Regions from separate parts of the Homo sapiens genome. Here region 1 is linked to region 2. The links are contacts of gene promoters, found by promoter capture Hi-C in blood cells and fetal thymus (Javierre and others, 2016). All regions are on one chromosome and are shown on one strand. The core of a region is centred on a gene start or on the middle of the fragment in contact, and the rest is flanking DNA. Distances in the headings are between cores, read along the strand shown. Region 1 overlaps MBP (myelin basic protein). Region 2 holds the start of MBP (myelin basic protein).

Region 1 (5,579 bases), core at 233-2,732, 130 kb before region 2:
ACAGTACATTTTGTTTCCCCATTTGTATTGATTATGTGCCAGTTTTGGGGAAGTGGGTCAAATAACTGAGTGTTGATAACATCTGCCCCATTTTCCCACCTGATGGGATGGAGCACAGGAAGTTGGCTCCATGTGGAGTTGCCGCCTGGAGACCTCTGGCCTCTCGTAAACCTGGAATGGTGCGTTCTCATGGAGGCAACCACGGCAGGGTCCCATGCACCTGGCTCTCTCCACCTGGGCCTCCCATTAGGGCCTTTGCTACAGAGATGCACCCATCAGCACTCGGCTGTGGAGCCTTAGCAAGCACCTGTTCTTCCCTTTGTCGTGTGGTCCATGATGTCATTGCAGAATGACACGTTAGAAAAATGTCTCTTTGTTAATGTATCTCAATATGCCCAGAGAGCAGCATCTACCATCCAGTGGCTAAATGCAGTAGGGATTTCCTTATGGGCATTGTCTTAATCAAGTAAGTGGTCCAAGTTCTAGGAATGTACATGTTTTCCCTGTGTCCCCAAAAGGATTCAATGCAAAGCCAGAATAGAGAAAGCAAGGCGTCTTGGTTTTAAAACACGAGGTGTGATCGTAAACCAAAAATATCATTCAGCACTGCTCCCACGTCACCACTCATTTTACAGATTTGAATATTGAGATGCACAGAGGTTCAGGGAGCTGCTCGCAGAGGCTGCTAGCTGTCTAGGGCTTGAACTTTAGACTGCATGCCAAGCGAGACTCTTGTGGAGTGAACGTAGGATGAGAGGCTCACGTTACCCACCTGAAAGTCAGCGGCCTATGGGGAAATTCACTGGCTAGTCATAGGAGAAAGGGAAAAGGGAAGGGAGAAGAACGGATTTTTAAATTGTATTTTATTACAAGAATTTGTAGACTTACCTTGTAGTAAGTTATGAAGCTATTGGCTAGAACTAACAGTGTGCTCACAGACGAGAAAAATAAACTAGTATCTGTAGACAAAGTCAATGACATATGCCAGTTAGTGTCTAGGGAATGAGGGAAGCTTCAATTGCTGCTGTTTACCAAAATAATTGGGAACTAATTTTCTAGTAAACACTGATGGATACAATAAATGCCAGTGTAGTTAATGAGATGAGATTTTTCAATTTTCTCTGTCATTTTAAAAGACGCATTTCTATGTAATTAAAACAAAGGGCCCATCAGTTCCTCCTTTCAGTGGAGAGTGATGCCTCAGGACTGACAGATGGCATCGTCTGGACTGTCCTATTTTGTCTATGTGACTGAAAACCAACCAACCAACATATCTCCTGGTCCTTATTCCTTTAATTTCCAGGTTGCACATGGCGGGTTTTTGCACACATCCACAAAGCGGCATTCGGGACCTCTGCTGTTCATTTCGACGGTTTCAGCAGTGGCCCTGAGAGTGAAGGGCGAATGAATTTGCTTTTTACTCTTTTTACCTCCCAGAGTAATATTTGATTCTTCTGGCACTCTCAGGAAGTGCAGATACCAGAGAGCTCAGAAGTTAATCTGAAAAAACTCAGAGACAGAGAGCTCAGGGATGAATCTGTGTGGCCTGTTCAGAACCACAGAAGATAGTGGTGTCACTGTTTTTCTGAGCTGCCATGATAAGAAAGAACAGAGGTATATTTGATATAATTTTTTTCTTGTGAAAGTGATAATATGCTTCTTCAGTATATTTTTTGAATTAGGAATCGTAAAATGTAGTTCTAGATGAAATAGATGCACCTTTTCTGCCATTTTCCCTACATCACACTTCTTTTGTGGCTCACAGAGATCCTTGACATCCCCAGAAACCTTGTTTAAGTGATTAAATGATCCTCCTTAAAGATGCTCAAAGGAGACAGTCACCTACGCAGCATCTTCCTTTCTCTCCAGGGATCTTCTGTTATTCAATGCGTGCGTATTTTCTACCTAAAAACCGGTGGGAGTGGGAAACAGCAGACCCCCTGCAAACTATCTGAAGCTTAGGGTCATGGTATCTGTTTCCCATGGAAACTGGAACCAGCAGCTAAAACAGGCACCAGTGAAATCAGTATTATTGGACAGAACATGGGTGTCAAAGTCTGCAAGGCTGGAGATGAGACGACACATCCGACTGTAAATGGTGGGCCATGCTGTCTCCCCTTTTCTTACTCTCCATCCCCCTGACTTCATAATGCTCTGGCAATTCCGAGAAATCACAGAACACTGTGGTTCTCTTTTCAATACTAGTTAAATACTAGTTACAATACTAGTTAAATAATAGCTTCCTCTGAAAAAAAGCACATATATATATATGTGTCCCCCCCCACTCCCCGCCGCAAGGAAGCTATTATTCGATTTCTGGTCAAACAGCTCCTACCATGCCTCAGGAGAGTATGTTAGATTTTTTTTTAAAAGCAAGATCAGGGCATTTTAGATTTTGCAGTTTGGAGAGAATTCTTTTCTGTCTGAATGACAGATGCAGTTTTTCCTGTGTTTTTGCCCTTTGCCGGGTTGAAGATTATGTTTATTCCTGAATCATCGGCTCGCACGAGTTAATGAAAGTCACGGGCATTTACTTTCTTTACAGAAAGCTGTGCACCATCCAGAATAGCGGGCTTTTCTCTATGTCTGAAAAAATTCACAGACAAGCCTTTCGTTCTGATGCAGATTTCAGGTAACCTGAGGCTGTTACCTCAGCTCCTTGCAGAGGATGCAGCTCCTTGCAGATACTGGGAATGAGAGCGCTGCAGGGTGGCGGCCGCTGGCGCCCGTGGCTTGTGTGTGTGGTTTCCCTTCTGGTGCCCTACTCGGGAGGTTGTTGCTTTGCCCCATGACAGGAAGGATCAGCGTTTCTCCTCTTAGCAAACTGTGAGGCTGGATGCAGAGATTCAGATACTGCTTTTGTAGATGTGGTCGGGGCATATCTGGTTGTGTTTTCTCTCCCATGTTTCATGGGGAAGTGAAGCTCCCGTGGCCTCCTTTGGGGGCCTTTGCCTCTGTCCGCTGGTGATACAGGGGTCGGTATCAGAGACCTCTTGGCACGAAACCTTGTGGGACCCACATTGGGGCTCTGGCTCTGGGCACAGAAGGATACAACAAATCAAAGTTCGGCAGCCTGTGCTTCTGCCATTAAGTAAACCCTTTCAGTGGCTGCATTTTTCTGATCTGGGTTTAACCTCAAAGAGGAAGAGCTTTGACGCCGGGTTCCAGCTTCCTCATCCTGGTGAGTGTGCCGAAGAGGGAGAAGCAACGGAGGTGGACAAACGGCACCTGTCAGAGGCGAAAGCTGCTGTCAGATTGGCGAGGAAGTCCTTAAAATGGTTGTGTGCTTTCCGCCGGGTGGCTGTGCCATGGCCTCTCTGGTTGGCACCTTGATGGCAGCCCGCCCCCAGGTACCATGTTGCCATGGCGTCTCCATGCAGGAGCACACCCTTCATGACCACAGCTCCGGGAAGCAGGGTCTCTGTTCCTTGTCCCGAGAGACCCACGGAAAAAATTCCTCTTCCTCATGGCAAGAGGGACTCCTCTCCCACGGGGGAGGCTCAGAGACGTCTGTTTCCCAAACGCAGATGACTCGGAGCTGATGGCCAGAGAGTGAAGTTCTAGTCCAGCTGCCCCAACCATGGGGCTTTTGAGGCTTGATTACCATTTCCTTCTGAGAATGGTGGGAGCAGGGATTGATATGAGGTTCACCGCTCGGATTTTCATTTTACAGTTTCGGAAACTAAGGCCCCAGCACAGAAACACAGAGGACCCAAAGCTACAGCCTTGAGGGGCAGAGGGGCCAGGGCCAGCAGGGCTTTTAGAGCCAGCACTGCCCTCCCCAGCAGCTCTGAGGGTGGCCAGGCCTCTTCCAGAATAGCACGAGTGTGGAGTGGCACTGGGGCAGGGTTATGATGACACCAATGTTTTCAGAGGACGAGGCTCCTGTGGGGCCTTTGCATTGCTTTTCTTGCTTGATCAGCACAACGTTCCAAAGCATCTGCAGGACAGGTGACGCTTTTGCCACCATTGCTGTTTCACAGGAGAGGGAAGGAAGCTCAGAGAAGACAGACACCTGCCCCAGGTCCACGGCTATGACGCAGTGCCATGAGACCTGAGCCAAGCATTTTTGGTTCTTCCTCCTGTGCTTTCCCATGGCACAAAATGCTTTGCTTCCTAAACGCCAGTGTGCTGGGTGATGGTGGATTCAGAGGCAGGGCAGGTCTTTCCAGAAGCCTCCATGGGCGCCAAGGCTGAGGGGTGGACAGTGTCCTCCAAGTCAGGCCAGGAGCACAAGGGTCTGTGAGAAAGAGGCAGAAAGGACGTCCGAGGACTCGGAGACAGTGGCTGCTGGAAGCCCAGAGCAGCCCCTTCCTGCTCAGGTCAGTGTCCTGGGCCCCAGGCCGAGCCTGGAGCTTGGAGGAGCTGGCACCGTTGGCGGGGCCGAGAGGAGCCGCCCTGCCCGGGGCCACCTTTCCAGCTGCACCACTGGCGCCCTCACTCCAGCCTCCAGTGCAGGCCCAGCACCGGGTTCCAGGGACCTGCAGCACGGGATGGACAGGCAGGCGGGCAGGCAGGGGCTGAGCAGACAGAGGAACTGCAGAGAACAGTGGGTCCACTTCCCACGCAGCCATTCCCCATCGTGCGTGTTGCTCCTCTCCCCTCAGAATCCTTGCTTCCCCAGCTTGCTTTTGGGTTCTCGCATGTCGCAATATTCCCCTACTGTGCTCCCGCTGCCTGCCTTCCAGTCCTCAAAGAAAAGAGCCCTGTCAGCCCCGAGAGCACCGGTGTCTCTGGGAGTCAGGGAGCTCGGAGCAGGGTCCCGTGCTGGAGGGGGCACCGCAGCACGGGAGCCAGGCTGTTCTTTGCCTTGTTGCCTATTTCATAGCTGGGGTGTCTCCCTTACCCTCCTGGTGTGTTTGCACAGAGAGAGAGAGGGAAGAGGAAGAGAGAGACACGAAGAGGGAGGGAGAGAGGGGGAAGTAGACAGACAGAGAGACAGGGAGGGAGAGGACACAGGGTGAGGTGGACCCAGGCGGAGGCCCTCTGTTCAGCTCGCGTTTCTCAGCCGCAGGGCAGGGAGTTCTTGGTTCCGACTCTGCTGGTTCCTGGCACTGCTCAGCCTGAGCCTTCCACCCAGCTGCTTCTGTCTCCGTTGGGAGCTGACTTCAAGGGTCCTTTGTCATGGAATCCCTGCATTTTAAAATCCCTCTGTATTTTAAAACCATTTAGTGCCTCCGGCCTTGCAATTCCTTCTTCCGTGGCTGGTGCCCTCACAGCCACTTTCTTGCAATAATAAAGCATCCCAAAGTACCGGAGGAAGGCATTCTAACTCAAAAGCTCCTTCTCAGGGACGAGAGAGGGAAGCTCCTCGCTTATTCTTCCACTCAATATGCAAATGGCGTGGGATTGCCACCGTCTTCGGGCAGGGGCACCCCTGGGGGCTCTCAGACCAGCCCGCCTGCACCCTCTGTGTGCACCTCCTGCAGAGATGGCCTCTGTGAGCCAGGCATCGCCGGCCCCTGCTCAGGGGGCTGGAGGGAGAAGTTGAGGCCTCTAGCACGCATCCCTGGGAGGGTTCTCTGTCCATTAAGAGCAACGCTGGGAGCCCACACAGCCTGCCCAGGCTTTAGTTTCAA
Region 2 (4,227 bases), core at 257-2,756:
CCATACGGTCCCCTGACTTGAGGGTGACCGTCCTTAAACTGTCCCCCGGAGCTTCGCCAGATAAAATGTCCAAAACACACACTGGAGTTCCCTGACGTTTCCTTCCTCTGAAAAACTCTCTTTCCAGGCGGGGCGTTCTGTGGTCAGACGAGGCAGAGGCCTCCCCGGAACGAAGTCCACGCCCCCTCCCCACCCCAGCACCCAGCGAGCCCACGCGCCCCTCACCCACGCGCAGAGAAACCGAGCACTTGTTGATTCTCACGTTGTTGCAATTGGAAAACGGAACAAGGAACCAGAGCTCGCCTGTTTCCAGCCAGAGTCGCACGGGGGTCCCCAAAGACGCTTGAACCTTTTCCCAAGCCCCACTCCACCTTCCAAAACGGGGGGGCTCAGGTGGACGCGAAAGGACACAAGGCGCTGCCCCCAGCACCCCGGAAAATCTAGTGTGGCGGCAAATGACCGCAGGTCACACACCCCGGCCTCGGGGGCCACGGAAAACGGACGCACCCGGCCCAGGACAGGCAGTGGGGCCCAGGAGGGGACTGCCGGGAAGACCCGGGCGGGCCGGCGGGCGGCTGCGGGCGGCGCACGTGGGCCCAGGTGGGCGCAGCGACGGGCCCGGCCGAAGAGCCCGAGACAGGCCCTGCGAAGGCGGAAGCCCGGACCCGGGCTCTCCTGGCCGCCCCTGGAGCTCAGAGGGAGACTGCGCTTCGCCCCGGGGGCAGGGGCAGGAGCGCGATCGCGCGCGGGGCCCCCGGGGTGTGATTAGCAGGCGCCGCGAGCCGGGAGGACCCCCCAGCCCGCCCTGGCAGCCAGCACCCTCTCCACACCCGCCCAGAGTGGCCGCTTTTGACCGCCGTCCCCTCCCACCCTAGACTCCTCCCCTCAGCCCCACGGCCCGAGGCCGAGCGGTTTCAGCGACCCTGGGACCGCCGGGCCTGGCTGGAGTCCACCCCTGGACACCTGTCAGGGTCGGGCCCCGGCGCTGTAAACCCGCGTCTACACCCGCGCCCAGCCCCCGCGCAATGGGGATCGGGGGCGGCGACTTGGGTTCGGGTCAGGGAGGCCGCCGGCTGCTACCTGCTCGGCCACCTGCTCCGCTGCCTAGGTTCTCCCTGCGCGTCCCCAGCCAAGAAAGGGACCCGGAGTCCGGGCGTCGGGATAGCTCCTGTCCCCGATCTTGCGCCCCCGGCTCCCGCGGGGCTCCGGTCCGGGGTCCCGCCCAGGTCTCCGCGGTCCCCACTCGGAGGGGCACAGAGACAAAGGCGGCAGAGCAGCCCGCCCGTCCCCGAGGGTCACCCACCGGCGCTGCGCTCGTTGCTCCGAGGCCGAGGGGCGCCGCGGGGTCCAAGGCCCTGCTCCGCCTGCCCAGGCCCGGGCAGGCTGGTCTCGGCTTCAAGCGCCCACGCGCGGGGTCCCCGGGCAGCCTGCTTCGCCTTCCGGGGTCGGGAGACAGGGGCCGCCGGGGCCGGAGGCTGCTTCTCTCTGGCGCGCGGCGGCGGTGACTGACGGCGGCGGCTCCGAGGGACGGGCGCGCACCCAGCTCCCCGGCCCCGCCTCCCCGGGCTTCCTGCGAGCCAGGTAAACACAGGCCGATCCCGCCGGGCCCGCCCCACCTGGACGCGGCCGCCGGCGCCGCCCCGGGAGCTCGGAGGACCCCGGGCCCGCTCTGCCCACGCGGAACTTGGGGGGCGCACGGGGCCCACGCGCAGGGTCAGACCTCGGAGGGGCGGCCTGGAGCCTCGCCCGCTGCCGAACTGGGCTCCGAACTGCGGCCCGTCGACCCTTCCCGTTCGGAGGCTTGGCCTCCGAACCCACCCCGACCCCGACCTCGACCTCGCGGGAGGGGTGCCAGGCCGCATCTCCCCGCGTCCTCAGGGGCTGGAAACCCCAGAAACTGCCGATAGACTTGGCGCAGCCCCGGCCCTGCAGGAGGAGAGTCAGCCCGGCCTGGAGGCGAAAGGAGCCGGCAGGTCCTCCCAAGGCACTCCCTCCCTCCCCTGGAGCCCAGGCCAGGCCCATGTCCGGCTGGCAGGTGCTCCTCTGGGAGCTGGGAGCTGGGAGCTGGGAGCTAGGGGCGCACCTTCTCCTGCAGGACCGGCGCAGGAAGCGTGCGCGGAAAAGACAGCAAAACACGCGCAGGTGCGAGGAAGCAGCCTGGTCCTGCAGCCCAGAGACATCGTGGTCTTCGTCGCTGTCTTGTTAAAAAGAAAAAGCCTGCTGTTTAGCCGTGACTCACCTGCACACAGATTTAGTGGTCAGAGATCTTTCTCTGGATTCTCAGCCTCCTGATGGTGGAAGAGGAGGAGGTTGGGGGAGTCCCAGAATGAGGCCCCGCGTTCCTCCTGACCTACACCCCCAGTCAGGGATCTGGATCTGGAGCTTCCAGGGGACCTGGAGCAGCCTGGGACCCACACAGTTTGTTAGGAAGTGAGGGAGAGGGGTGAGCGCTGTCCCGGCCCGCGCTGGGAGGCGGGACTCAGACTTCAGCACGGGGTCGGGGTTTCGGCCTAAAACCAGCCTCCCCCAAAGCCCCGGAGGATTTAGCAACTGTCTTCAAATGCTGGCAACTGGAAGAGAAATACTTCCACAACGACGCAAAAGCATTCAGTCTGGTCGTTTCCTCAGGAGAGATTTTCAAGTGGAGGGGGCAGGAGGGTTCTGAGACTTTGAGGCTGAAGGTGAGGAGGGAAAAGGGTGCCAAAGATAGTGTGTTTCTCCAATTTTTCTGCCCCACAACCTCACTTTAAGTCAAGGATGAGCGGAGTGGGCGTGGGAGGCTGGACAGCTGCCCTAGGAGCACGGGTGGTGACAATGAACCCGGGTGCACCCAGGTCCCAGCTCAAGTCACTCAAAGCTCAGGCTGGGGAAGCTGGAACACTAAAATGGGTCCCATTTTAGATACCTGCTTTAGCATCAGAAACAGCTTTTCCTCCCCAAAATATCTCTTGGCTTTATCTCAGTGACTCCACAGGGCGGGGCCACCTTCCTGCCTGCAGATGTCCCTGTGTGCTGGGCTCTGGAGCGTCCCTCAGGCCACAGTGACAGCTGCACACGCGGCCTTCTGTTTGGTGCTCCTTCTGCTGGTGTTACAGTGGTTTCCTGAAACACTACATATGCCAACAGTCAGCCCTACAAATGTCAGGCTCCACAAGTTCCAGTTAAAAGTCTTTTTAAAGTATTTATGAAATTTCACCGTGCATATTTTGTTGGGATAGAGTGTCCACACAGATGGGCAGCCAGGCAGTTTAGAAAAGTCATGGATTCTTCAAAGAAAACATGTAGATAATACTATTTAATAAAACAGTGGATTCACATTTGGATCAACTGGTCTTATCTTGGGGGCTTTCATGCCCTCCCGGTTAGAAAAAGGACCCCAGGTTGAGGACAGTGGATGGAAGAAACAGAGGCTGGCATTTCACTGTCGAGAGACAAACTTTCACATGAAGATGTCCATGTAGCCCTCAGCAAAGTGACAGAGATTCGTTGTGCTGAATAAAATTGAAAGGCATCTTTTGACAAGTAACCCATCAAAGCCTCATTGTGTCTTTGACATTTCTAAGAAAATCACATTGCAGTTACCCCCATCTTTCACAAGGTACCGGAGAGCAGAAAGTTTGACCTATCCATCATCTCATATGGCAGCAAATAGCAAAATGTTTTGTGCATGAAATACACTCAATAAATTTTTGTTAAGCTGAATTAAACTCCAAATTACCCAAGCTAAAGGAAGTAAATGAATCTAAATAGTTTCCAACAGACCTCAGACTGCACGAACTTTGAGTTTTCTTTAGTTTCCTCATCAACAGATTTGTCTTTGTTATGATGTTTTGCTTAGGAAAGGACTGAACTTTTTTTTTTCTTTCTTTTTTTTTTTTAGATGGAGTCTTGCTCTGTGGCCCAGGCTGGAGTGCAATGGTGCAATCTCAGCTCACTGCAACCTCCGCCTCCCAGGTTCAGGCAATTCTCCTGCCTCAGCCTCCCGAGTAGCTGGGATTATAGGCAACCGCTACCATGCCCAGCTAATTTTTGTATTTTTAGTAGAGATGGGGTTTCACCACGTTGGCCAGGCTGTTCTCGAACCGCTGACCTCAGGTGATCCACCTGCCTGGGTCTCCCAAAGTCCTGGGATTACAGGCCTGAGCCACCACGCCCGGCCAGGACTGAATATGATTTTCAGACCTGGTCTAAACCTCTCTGAGCCTCAGTCTCTTCATCTGCAGTGTG

What was found. Contacts are between HindIII fragments. The CHiCAGO score rates a contact against its expected background, and 5 or more counts as called.
Region 1: a contact is called between a fragment that was not itself captured here and the fragment with the promoter of MBP in region 2, in 15 of 17 cell types (monocytes, non-activated CD4 T cells, naive CD4 T cells and 12 more). The highest score is 14.6, in monocytes.

The regions. Positions count from the first base shown.
Region 1 is chr18:77,002,003-77,007,581 of GRCh38, forward strand. All of the region lies in intron 4 of MBP (myelin basic protein), which reads right to left. Among named protein-coding and RNA genes, the nearest start is that of MBP-AS1, 24 kb to the left of the region's middle. RefSeq lists enhancers at 3,467-4,366, 4,367-5,265. The HindIII fragment of the contact is 945 bases long and covers 1,011-1,955 here.
Region 2 is chr18:77,131,277-77,135,503 of GRCh38, forward strand. It overlaps MBP (myelin basic protein), which reads right to left and starts at 1,507. Exons shown (of 9, transcript NM_001025101.2): 1 at 1,304-1,507. RefSeq lists a silencer at 472-1,771. The HindIII fragment of the contact is 15,459 bases long and covers 1-4,227 here.